3 separate regions of the Homo sapiens genome follow, and regions 2 and 3 are each linked to region 1. Evidence: promoter capture Hi-C in 16 types of primary human blood cells and fetal thymus (Javierre and others, 2016). All regions are on one chromosome and are shown on one strand. The core of a region is centred on a gene start or on the middle of the fragment in contact, and the rest is flanking DNA. Distances in the headings are between cores, read along the strand shown. Region 1 holds the start of NUBP1 (NUBP iron-sulfur cluster assembly factor 1, cytosolic). Region 2 holds the start of CPPED1 (calcineurin like phosphoesterase domain containing 1). Region 3 overlaps TMEM114 (transmembrane protein 114).

Region 1 (4,198 bases), core at 72-2,571:
TCTCAGCTACTCGGGTGGCTGAGGCAGGAGAATGACGTGAACCCAGAAGGCGGAGCTTGCAGTGAGCCGAGATCCCACCACTGCACTCCAGCCTGGGTGACAGAGCGAGAATCCGCCTCAAAAATAAATAAATAAATAAACGTTTCCATATTCTTAGTGTCTGGGGCTAGGTAAAGTTTGTTCACTCATTAATATTCCAGGTGCCAAACCTGTGAGCAATGACACTCCAGTAGCAATGAGCATTTGTGGCATCCACATCTTGGTTTCTGAACTGTTGTCTGCTAAAAAGTAACCAAGGCTCCCTGAAGAAATGACTGCAGCAGGGAGAAGGGATGACTGAAACATCTTGTATCAGAAAGCAAGAAAATGCTCAAAGAAGCTGGATTAGTGCCCAAAGAACATAAGAACTGTCTTGAAGGGGCTTCACTGGCCACATCTGGGGGAAAAAAAATCGACCAGAAAGAATAATAATTGATTATAAAAGACAATTTTAAAAAATCCAGGAATCCATAGTGAGTCTTCGAAAAAAAAGAAAAAAAGAGAGGGTATAAAACTGATATATATTTATCATATATATAATCTATAGTTTTATATATATATATATAAATGCTGCTAAAATCACTGAGTGAAAGGCTGATAGAGAAGAAGATGGTCCCAGAGAGTACCTGTTAATTACAAATGGAAGAAGGAAACATTAAATGGAGAAATGGGGCAGACACCACCTTTAGCAAGCGATCAAGCTTCACATTACCAAAAACGGGACAAACTGACATTATCCAAGTGTGTTCTGCAGGAAAAAAGAAAAATTAACCTTTATCTAATTACAAGGCAAGAGGGAGGGGAGGATTAGACAAATCAAGAATATGGGATATTCTATTACACAACTGGTCTGGACCCGTCAAAATTATCAAGGTGATGAGACCCCCCCTAAAAAAAGAAGGACTGATCTGAATTAAAGGAGACCGAAGAGAAATAACTCCAGGCAGTGAGTGAATCCAGCAGGGGAGGGGGTCTAACAACTGAAATTGAAATATAAACTGTCTATTGGCTAATACTGCATTGGCTAGTACTGCATCGATATTAAATCTCTTGGGTATGAAAATGGCACTGATGTCATGAAGAATGGCTTTGTTCTTAGGAGATGCACTGCAGAAGTATTTATGATAGGAAATCTCTGAAAAGGAACAGACGTTGAGTCCCAGTCTTTCGGCCCAAGGTTCGCGCGTGCGCACAGCCCCCTTTCCGAGACTTATTTCGCGCGGTCGGAGAATCAGATTGTGCCCACAAGGCGGAAATGTACGACAGCGGGTTCCGGTGACCACGAAGGCGGCAAAGGCGACGGAATGGAGGAGGTGCCTCACGGTAAGCTCGCGGAGGGGGCGTGGGTCGCGGGGCGAAAGTGTCGGGAGCTGCTCTAACTGTGGTCTTGTCTCTGCGCAGACTGTCCAGGGGCCGACAGCGCCCAGGCGGGCAGAGGGGCTTCATGTCAGGGATGCCCCAACCAGCGGCTGTGCGCTTCTGGAGCGGGGGCCACTCCGGACACGGGTGAGAAAAGGGCAAGGCCTCAACAGGAACTTAGAGGCGCAGGCCCGGAAAAGGCGGGGCGTGGGAGGGAGGGGGCGGGATCTGCAGAATGACTGACAGCGGCAGGCTAGAAGGTATTGTATTCGGAGAGGGGTGGGGCCCAGAAGGGGCGGGGCGTGGAAAGTGGGCAGGGTGAGGGCGGAGCTTGGAATGACTGACAGGAACGAGGCCTTTAGAAGGCGAGCGCGAAGGACCTGGCGCGGATGGAGGGTGGAGACTGACCGGCGCGGAGTCGAAAGGGACATTAATTAAGAGGGTCGGGGCCAGAGGTTTGAGTGACAATAACAGACCGCAGAGAAAAACGGGATAAGCTTCGAAGTCGGGGAGTCTTCGGACTTACATCCTGGCTCTGCCAGCTACTTTCTTGACACAATTTTCTTCCTTTTGAGGAGTGATTCTCCCACTCATTCAGCAGAAATGTGTTGATCGCCTCGTAGGTTTGGTGCTGTCCTGGGGACACAGCTGGGGATCAGGCGTGGTCACTGCTCTAGTGGAGTTTAGCTTTACTGGGGAAACAAACACGTGAGCTAGCAACTAAACCACCGCAGCTTTAAGTGCTGTGAAGCACAGATTCCAGGATGAGAGGACCCAGGGAGCCTGCTCAGAAGGACCTTAAAAAGCAGGAGGCAGGAGGACAATATTTTTTTTTCTTTTTTTTCCCCCTTTTTTTTTAGACAGAGTCTTGCTGTGTAGCCCAGACCAGAGTGCAGTGGTGTGATCTCGGCTCACTGCAACTTTCACCTCTCAGGTTCAAGCGATTCTCGTGCCTCAGTCTCCCGAGTACCTGGGACTACAGGCGCCTGCCACCACGGCTGGCTAATTTTTATATTTTTAGTAGAACCAGAGTTTCACCATGTTGACCAGGTTGGTCTCGAACTCCTGACCTCAAGTGATGCATCTGCCTGGGCCTCCCAAAGTGCTGGGATTACAGGCATGAGCCACTGCACCTGGCCAAGGGGGAGAATCTTGAAGGAGTTCAGAGAGAGACTTGGATTTGATTCTTGGATCCATGCGGTGTGACCTTCAGCAATAGTCCTAACCTCTCTGAGCTTCTGGTTCCTCATCAAAAATGGAGACAGGCCGGGTGCAGTGGCTCACGCCTGTAATCCCAGCACTTTGGGAGGCCGAGGCGGGTGGATGGATCACTTGAGGTCAGGAGTTCGAGACCAGCCTGGCCAACATGGTGAAACCTGTCTCTACTAAAAATACAAAAATTAGCCAGCATGGTGGTGCATGCCCGCCCTCGAGGCTGAGGTGGGAGGATCACTTGAACCCGGGAGGTGGAGGTTGCAGTGAGCTGAGATCGTGCCACTGCACTCCAGCCTGGGTGACAGAGTGAGACCCTGTCTCAAAGAAAAAAAAAAATGAAGAGAAAAATAGTTATCTCTGTCAATGCAATGGAGAGACTGAACTGAGCCTCAGTGGAGGTTTATTGGGCCAGAGCTTGAGGGCGTGCCCTGGAAAATACAAGTGACAGAAACATCTGTGGCCTGTGCTCGATGGAGTGGTTCCAGAAGGCTGGTGTTTATATATTTCATTAAAAGGGGAAAAAGCATGCAGGAAAAAGTGCAGTAGGCCTCGTGGCAGGTAGTTACATTCTTGTGAGGTTTTAATTCGTGCCCAGTATATCTACACTATTCAGAAAATAAAGTAAACATTCAAAAGAGGGAATAAAGGAAGAATTAATTAGGCAGACGTCTCAGGGTAGGAGAGGAAGGACTATCTCATCCCATCTTTGTTTGGCATGTGGGAGGATAAGCTTGTAATGGACATGGTCAGTGTGGCGTTTAACAGACATCAGTAATAGGGAAGGAGTTAGACTGAGGTTACAGTCCTAAAGTTACAGTTGGCATGTCCTTGTTTATGGGAGGATACTCATCTTCAAAGATTTAGGGGCCAGCAAAGGAGTTCCTTAGGAGCAACTTGTGAGGGCAGTCATCCCACAATGGATTGCATGGGGCCTTTGGCCTTTTGCAGGTGTCTGGTTAATGTAGAATGCTTTGACACAAGGTTGGGAAGTAACAGCTGTCTGTTGATGGGGAGGAGGACAGCAGTGTTGGGAGGTTTCCAGGCTTAACTTTCACTTGAGTTTGGCCAGTCATGAGACTTTTTAATTTCCTTTATACCTCGTGTATTGTTTTAAGGATTTGAAATAAGATAGTTTCATTGGCAGATACTTAGTATGTGCCTGCTGTCTATCAGAGTTTCTCAACCTCAGCACTGCTGACATTTGGGGCAGGATCACTCTTTGTTGTGGGGGGCTGTCCTGTGCATTGTAGGACATTTAGCACAATCTGGGCTGTACCCATTAAATGCCAGCAGTACCTCTCCTGTGACAATGAAAAGTGTCTCCAGGCTGAGCATGGTGGCTCACACCTGTAATTCCAACACTTTGGGAGGCCAAGGTGGGTGGATCACTTGAGGTTGGAAGTTCGAGACTAGCCTGGCCAACATAGAGAAACACCGTCTCTATTAAAAATACAAAAATTAGCCAGGCATGGTGGCAGGCACCTGTAATCCCAGCTACTTGGGAGGCTAAGGCAGGAGAATCGCTTGAACCCAGGAGGCAGTGTTGCAGTGAGCCGAGATCACGCCACTGCACTCCATCCTGGGC
Region 2 (3,928 bases), core at 1,373-3,872, 2.1 Mb after region 1:
GTATTTTTAGTACAGATGGAGTTTCACCATGTTGACCATGCTGGTCTCGAACTCCTGACCTCAGGTGATCCACCCGCCTCAGTCTCCCAAAGTGCTGGGATTACAGGCGTGAGCCACCGCGGCCGGCCCTCAACAAATATATAGGCGTGAGCCACCGCAGCCAGCCCACAACAAATATTTCTTGAACTGAAAAAAAAAATAATACAGCAGAGTAACAGGGAACTCTCATATACTGCTGGTGGGAGTATAAATTGGCACTACCACTTTGGAAGGCAGTTTGACCACATCTAGTAATGCTGGGGATGATTATACCCTATAACCCAGAACATAGCTTGTAGGTATATGCCTCAGAGTAACTCTCCCATGTGTCCACAAAGAGATTTGTACAGAATGTTCATAACAGCACTGTTACCAAGGGCAAAAACCAGAAACAACTAAATGGCCATTGTATTAGTCAGGATCCTTGCAGGAAATAGTTGGCATTCTCAAATTAGGATGATTTTAAAAAGGGTTTAAAAAGGGATTACTTGGTGGGGGTTGGGTGGACGAAACCTACAAGGGAGTGTGGTAACCCAAGGTTAGAAAAGCAGAACCACTGCCACTCCCACGCCTCAAAGGAGGAAATGGTTACTCAAATCCAGAACTAGAGAGAATGAGGAGAAAAGCTGTCCTGAGAAAAGGAGCGACCTTGACCTTCAGGGGTGGGGAGGAAGACAGCCAGGCGAGGCAACCCCACAGAGTAAACTGCAAGAATAAATACAGCTGCCTTTTGCTTCTCTCCCTGCTCTGATTTCTTCTCAGGGCTCCCCACTGGCTGAGCCCAAAGGAAAACCAAAAGGCAAGGAGCCCACCGATGTAGCTCACGGAGGGCAAACCCCTGGGGCATGGTGGGGAAGGGAGAAAGGTTTGGAGAGGCAAAGGGAAGATATTCAGCATATACATCAACAGAATGTATAAGGTATATAATCATCCAATGGAATGTTGCCCAGCAAGAAAAGAGCAAAATCTTCATGTTGGACAAAAAAGACAAGGTCCATTAAAATACAGTCGTCCCAGGCCGGGCGCGGTGGCTCAGGTCTGTAATCCCAGCACTTTAGGAGGCTGAGGACGGCGGATCACCTGATGTTGTGAGTTCGAGACCAGCCTGGCCAACATGGAGAAACCCCATCTCTACTAAAAATACAAAATTAGCCGGGCGTGGTGGTGCGTGCCTATAGTTCCAGCTACTCCAGAGGCTGAGGCAGGAGAATCGCTTGAACCCGGGAGGCGGAGGTTACAGTGAGCCAAGATCGTGCCACTGCACTCCAGCCTGGGCAATAAAGCAAGACTCCGCCTTAAATGAATAAATAAGGTTTTACCATAGAATTACCGGAGAAACCTACTTTAGATAAGGTAGCAGGTAAAGTCTCTGAGGAAGTGAATGAACTTTAAAATGAGGTGTGACGGTTGAGAGAGCCAGGCTCACCAACCCTGCTAAAGAAGCAGAAAACAGCAAGCGCCAAGACCCTCAGGGAAAGAACGGCCTTGGCCCTTTTAAATGCAGTTCAAACAAGGGCAACAACAAAACCTGTTGCAGAACTGGGCAAGAGAGAGAATGACAACCCTGAAGGAAGTGGACACAAGCCTGATCATATAGGGCATTTAGGGTGACTTCCCTGGGGGTATAAAGCTGGTGAGAGCCTGGGAGGCGATCTGGCTGCAGGCAGCAAAAAGCCACAGAGGGGAATCAACAAACCAGAAACAAACCTCCCTCTTTACTTAGCACCTAGCATGCGTCCAACACCGGGTTACAAAAATACTTTTGATCTGTTTACGCTTCCAACAACCCTATGAGGCAGGTATTATCAAACCCATTTTTAAGGCAAAGCAGATAATCTAAATCCAAAATCCAAGCACTTCACTACGACTCTCGAATGCCCTCCCTCTCTACTGCTCTGATGGGGCAGTGTTACCATTTCGGTGAATGACTTAAATAAACGTCATTATGGAGTACAGAATACATAACGGTGAACAACCTTAATAAAACCGACACCCTCTAACATGCACCGAACGCTTATCCAGTAACACCCACAAGTATTCCCGTTTCACAGATGTGGAAGCTGAGGCCAAGATGCTAATGCACAGCTTGGAAACCAGGTCTCGCTGCAGAGTCCAAGCTGTCATTAACTATGCTTTGCTACCCTCCTCTTACTTCCCTTCTCTGGGGGAAGTTAGGTCAAGGCCAAGGAGGCTCCTAGACCAGATCGCTCTCTCGGCCTCGCCTCTCAACTGCGCCCCTGGAATCCCTAAGAGCAGGCTTTGATGCAGCTATGGCGGCTCCCAGGCCCCGGTGCAGCCCCGGATGGTGTCCGACTGGCGGAGCGCACACCTGAACAAAAGGTTCCCCCGGCGGAAGGTTCCGCAGCCCCAGAGTCCCCTCCCCGGGTGAGGGGCGGGCAGTACCTGCGGGAAACGCGGCCAGGGTCCTGCCCCTGGCTCTGTGGAAAACACCCCCCGCCTCTGCAGCCGACATGGCGAGCGAGTTTCTGGCCTTCACTTAGAACACTGCGTGGGTGGAAGCCGCGCGACTTCACACAGAACAACCGCTGGACCTGTCCCGCTTTGGGCGACGCCCTTTGATCTCGGGGCGGGACTGGGGCGGGACGGGGAGGGGCCCGGTGGCTCGGGGCGCCACTAGTGCTGCCTGGGCGGAGCGGAGGCGCCAGCGGCCCCTCTGGGATCGACCTGCGCGCCTGGCGAGTGGAGACTGTCTAGGGCACGCGTGGGCGGGGATAAGGCTTTGGGGTCAGTCCTTCCCTAAAGGCAGAGTTACTAGATTTAACAAGTAAAAATGCAGGACTCCCGGTTAAATTGGAATTTCAGATTTTTTTTTTTAAAGAATGACTGACTTGGTATAAATATGTCCTATGCAGTATTTGGGAGCTACTTACGTTAAATTTTTTTTTCATTATCTGAAATTCCAATTGAACTGGGCGTCCTAATTTTTTTAAATTTTTCTCTTTTTGCAGGTTTGAATGGAAGCGTCCTGATTTTTTTTTATCTGACAACTCTATCATAAAGTCAGAAGGAGCCACTGGGGTGGCTTACGCCTGTAACCCCAGCTCTTTGGGAGGCCAAGGAGGGAGGATCGCTTGAGTCCAGGTGTTGGAGACCAGCCTGGGCAACACGGCGAGAGACCTTGCCAATACAAAAAAAAAAAAAAAAAAGATGAAAAGGTGGACGTCTTGGAAGACTGTCTCAGCCTGAACTTCCCAGTGGCTGCCACCATCTTTCTGTTATTATCTTTGCTTGCTATGCACCAGGCAGGGCGCTAAGCACTTTGCACGCTGCTCACTTAATCCCCACTACAGCCCTAGGAGGTGGTGCTGTTATTAGCTGCATCCGTCATTTGGGGAAACTGACGCTCAGAGAGATGAACGAACTTGCACAAGGTGACACACATCTAGAGAGGTAGTAAAGCTGCGAGTAACCAAATTAGTGTCTCTTCAACTCAAGAGCCATTGTAGTGAACTACTTAGCCAGCATTTGTCAAACGTGTTGAAAATACAAATTCCAGAATGGACCTATTGAATCCAAATCTCTATGAAAATGATCTGTGTTTTGTTGTTGTTGTTGTTGTTTTGAGACAGGGTCTCACTCTGGTTGCCTAGGCTGGAGTGCAGTGGCACAATCTCTGCAGTCTCGATCTCCTGGGCTCAGGTGATTCTCCCACCTCAGCCTCCTAAGTGGCTGGCACTATTGGCGTGCGCCACCATGCCTGGCTAATACTTTGTATTTTTAGTAGAGACGAGTTTGACTATGTTGCCCAGGCTGATCTGGAACTCCTGAGCTCAAGCAATCCACCCACCCGGGCCTCCTAGAGTGCTAGGATTACAGGCATGAGCCACAGTGCCTGGCCTGAAAATGATCTGTTTTTAACAAGCACTGC
Region 3 (4,190 bases), core at 1,467-3,966, 2.2 Mb before region 1:
AGGTCTGGACCTGAGGGGACAAATCGTGGCTGAGCCTCCCCAGCAAAGGGACACGCGCCGTAGTCCCACTTCCTCCTCCTGTTTACCTTCTCATGAGTATAAATCCCCTCCTCTAACCCCCGGTTAGTCCAGCACACCTGGATCTGACCACACCTCCACCTGCTCCGAGTTCTTTCTCCTCTCATCTGGCCCTGGGAGGCCCCTCCCTGTACTTCCTGCAACCACTCTCACCCCTGCAGGCCGGTCCGTTCACACAACAGACCTAAGGGTCTTAGAGCAGTGGTTCTTACCTCCCCTGCACAGCAGAATCACCTGGGGAACTTTGTGAACATAACAATGCCCAGGTCCGCCCTCGAGGGTCTGATTGCATTTGGCTCCATTGGGGCCCCAGTGCTAGCAACTGGTTGTTTTTTAAATAGGACCCCCACGTGATGCTAATGTAGAGCCAGGGTTGAGAACCACTGTCTTAAAGGCATATCACTCTCAAGAGAGAGTCCAAGTGGAATAAGAAAATAGAAGAGGAGAGGACAAGACAGAATGGAACAGAACAGATCAGAACAAAATGGATCAGAATAGAACAGAACCAATCCAATGGATTAAAATACGGCAGGACAGATCGAAACAGAATGGATCGGGCCAGGCACGGTGGCTCACGCCTGTAATCCCAGCACTTTGGGAGGCCAAGGTAGGTGGATCATGAGCTCAGGAGATCGAGACCATCCTGGCTAACACTGTAAAACCGCATTTCTACTAAAAATACAAAAAATTAGCCAGGCATGGTGCATGGTGGTGCGTGCCTGTAGTCCCAGCTACTGGGGAGGCTGAGGCAGGAGAATCACTTGCACCTGGGAGGCAGAGGTTGGAGTGAGCCGAGATTGAGCCATTGCACCCCAGCCTGGGTGACAGAGCTAGACGCAGTCTCAAAAAAAAAAAAATCAGAATAGAACAGAACAGGTCAGAATAGAATGATGGATCAGAATAGAAGAGAACAGATCAGAATGGATCAGAACACAACAGAATGGATCAGAATAGAACAGATCAGAATGGATCAGAACACAACAGAATGGATCAGAATAGAACAGATCAGAATGGATCAGGATAGAACAGAACAGAACAGAATGGAACAGCATCCCAACCCCACTTAATCATCAGCACCTCCTTACCACGGGCCATGGGCATCGCCCACTGCCTTCTCTCTCCCTGCCTCTACCTTCACCTCCTATTTCTCTCCATCAACCCTCCCTCTTCATTTCCCTCTAACACAGAAGCTTCTTCCCACCTCAGGGCCTTTGCGTCTGCTGTCACCTGCCTGGTCTGCAGTTTCCCTACCTACAGGTTCTTCATGCGGGTCTCAGCACAATGTCACCTCCTCCAAGAAGCCCTTTCTAATTGTCCTTCCTGGAGTCACATCTCTACCAGACACCTTTCATCCCATCACCCTGGTTTTTTTTTTTTTTTTTTTTTGAGATGGAGTCTCACTCTGTCACCCAGGCTGGAGCGCAATGGTGCGATCTCGGCTCACTGTAACCTCCACCTCCTGGGTTCAAGTGATTCTCCTGCCTTAGCCTCCCAAGTAGCTGGGATTACAGGCGCGTGTTACCACAGCTGGCTATTTTTTTTTTTTTTGTATTTTTAGTAGAGATGGGGTTTCACCATGTTGGCCAGGCTAGTTTCGAACTCCTGACCTCAGGTGACCTGCCTGTCTTGGCATCCCAAAGTGCTGGGATTACAGGCATGAGCCATGGCGCCCGGCCTCATCACCCTGTTTTGTTTTCTTCATAACACTAATCACTGTCTGAATCTCTCAGATAGATTATTGGTTCATGGGTTTATCATCTGTTCCCATGTGAGCTAGGAAGGGTGGAGATTTTCTTGGCCACCCCCATGAATGTGTCCCCAGGCCCTGGAACAGTCTCTGACACTGTAGGTATCTGGCAAGCATTTATCAAATGCATGAATGGATGGGCGAATGAATGAGCTTATTCTGTGTTGTCAGTTCCTGAGGTGCACACATGTTTTGGTTTGTTATTGTCCATTATTGCTCGCTTAGCAGAGTGTCTCAGCATGTCCCAAGGTGGACGTGTGGGACCAGATGTCCTGAGCATCATAGGATGCGAGGAGCATCCCTGGCCTCTTCCCACTGGAGCTGCCGGTAATACCACTCCCCACACGCACTAAGAACAACCAAAACTGTCTCCAAACACTGCCAAATGTCAGGTGGGGGAGAGAATCGCCCCAGCTGAGAACTCTGGCCCTGCAGTATTTAATCCAGCACTTGGGCGCTAGGAGGGCTGAAAACGTGTCTCTTGACGAATTTGGGGATCAAATCCTGCCTCTGGAGCAGTTCCACAATACGACCAGCAGGTGGAAGCAGAGACCGCCCTTTCGGTAGCATGGTTGCCCTCACTTTGCAAAAACTTTGTTTTCCCCAGCATTGTAACTGATTTTCCAACAGCGCTCATTTAGCCCCATGTGGCCATGTGAGTAACCCACTCCTTTTGCGCCTTTCCGGATTAGACAGGGACGTCGCAGCAACGTCCTGAAAGGAGCAGACAGCCAGTAAAGAAGTGCAGGCGTTGGTGGAAGTAGGGGGAGGACCATCTTGGGATCAGGCAGTTCTGAAGTTTACTCCCAGTTGCGTCCCTTTCTCTCCTTATGCCCTTAGTCCAGTTATGTTAACCTGCCAGTGCCTCAGTTTCCTCATCTGTACCCTGCTTTGCTTATCTCCTAGTCCTCACCACGGGCTACGTATTTCATATGCCTCTCTCTCCTCAATCATGTGGCACCCCAGAGAGCAAGGTCTGGGTCTGGAGGAGTCATTGCCCCCCCAGTTGCTGGTGTGTACTGGCCTTCCTTTGAGTGTTTGTTGAATGACTGACTGACCGACTGGCGTGGAGAATAGCACAGGTGCATAGATGTGGATGTCAGCTATAATGATGACAATGCTGATGTCATGGTGGTGTCATGTCGTTGTGGTGGTGATGTCATGGCATGGTGGTGATGATGTCATGATGTTTGTTGAATGACTGACTGACCGACTGGCATGGAGAATAGCACAGGTGCATAGAAAGTACTCAGTGGGTGTCAGCTATGATGATGACAGTGTTGACGTCATGGTGATGATGATGTCATGATGAAGACGATGATGCCATATTGTTGATAATCGTGTTGTCATCTTTTAATCCACACCAGTATTCCCCAAACCATCAGCACCTCCCAGAGTTTCCTAAGCCAAAGGCTCCTCGGGCCCTCCCCTACATCTCATGACTTGGAATCTTGCAGGAACAGAATCTCAGCCATGGTTTTGGGTTAGAATAGGCTGGAGAGCTCTTAAAAAACACTGATGCCTGGACACCAGCCCTAGAGAATATCAGATCAAGGATGTAGACAGCAGCAGGATTTTTGGAAGATACCCAGGTGATTCTAAGAGCAGCAAGATGACAACCCTTCTCTGTCACTTAATAAACGCCCCACCTCGGCATTTATGCAAACAGTGGCTCTGGGCCAGAAGCCTCGGCATCGCCTGGAAGCCACTTAGAAATGTGAGTTTTTGGGCTTCACCCAGGCCTCCTGGCTCAGACACCCTGGGGGTGGCATCAGCCCGAGAGTATCAACAAGCCCATAGAGTCTGGGGCGCGCTAAATGTGAACAGCACTGCCCCAGGGGACCCGGATGGGGAGCCCATTCCCAGGGGCAGAACACCAGGATGAAAGGAGGGATGGATTTTTCTGGGGGAGGACGGAAAAGGTATGATTAGTCTTGAAGAGTGCTCTATCAATTGGCCAACCCCTTGGGAGTCTCGCAGCTTCATATTGTAGACCTAACCTGACCCCGTAGAAAGCCCATGTCATGCCAGAGTTATTTTAGAGCAAAAGGAACTCCAGGCCAGAGCTCCCCAGAGAGAGCTGAACGCATTACAGGGCCCAGGAGGTAGGGCACCCTCTCCCTTTCCCAGACCCACCAAGGAGCTGATCCAAGGGACATGGGTGAGGAGGAAATGAAGTCGGAGGGGGCGTGAGGACTTTGCAATCTGTAAAGCTCTGTGTGTGATTAAAGGATCGTTTTTATTTCTCGCGAAGCGGTTTGGCACTCCCTCGGGCTCCTCCAGGCCACACGGACACACACGGACATAAGCACACAGGTACTAGGATAACAGCCAGGCCCCAAGCTTAGTCCGCGGGGATTTGTGG

What was found. The method cuts DNA at HindIII sites, captures the fragments that hold promoters and counts their contacts. A CHiCAGO score of 5 or more calls a contact.
Region 2: the fragment with the promoter of CPPED1 here is called in contact with the fragment with the promoter of NUBP1 in region 1 in 1 of 17 cell types (activated CD4 T cells); the score reaches 5.8 in activated CD4 T cells.
Region 3: a contact is called between a fragment that was not itself captured here and the fragment with the promoter of NUBP1 in region 1, in 1 of 17 cell types (total CD8 T cells). The highest score is 5.6, in total CD8 T cells.

The regions. Positions count from the first base shown.
Region 1 is chr16:10,742,521-10,746,718 of GRCh38, forward strand. NUBP1 (NUBP iron-sulfur cluster assembly factor 1, cytosolic) reads left to right here and starts at 1,322. Exons shown (of 11, transcript NM_002484.4): 1 at 1,322-1,362; 2 at 1,441-1,545. The coding sequence starts at 1,344. RefSeq lists an enhancer at 1,131-1,180. The HindIII fragment of the contact is 1,155 bases long and covers 739-1,893 here.
Region 2 is chr16:12,801,265-12,805,192 of GRCh38, forward strand. CPPED1 (calcineurin like phosphoesterase domain containing 1) reads right to left here and starts at 2,623. Exons shown (of 4, transcript NM_018340.3): 1 at 2,443-2,623. The coding sequence starts at 2,512. RefSeq lists enhancers at 803-882, 2,205-2,574 and a silencer at 2,655-2,704. The HindIII fragment of the contact is 13,841 bases long and covers 1-3,928 here.
Region 3 is chr16:8,565,455-8,569,644 of GRCh38, forward strand. It overlaps TMEM114 (transmembrane protein 114), which reads right to left. Exons shown (of 4, transcript NM_001146336.2): 4 at 4,046-4,190. Among named protein-coding and RNA genes, the nearest start is that of TMEM114, 23 kb to the right of the region's middle. The HindIII fragment of the contact is 2,900 bases long and covers 1,267-4,166 here.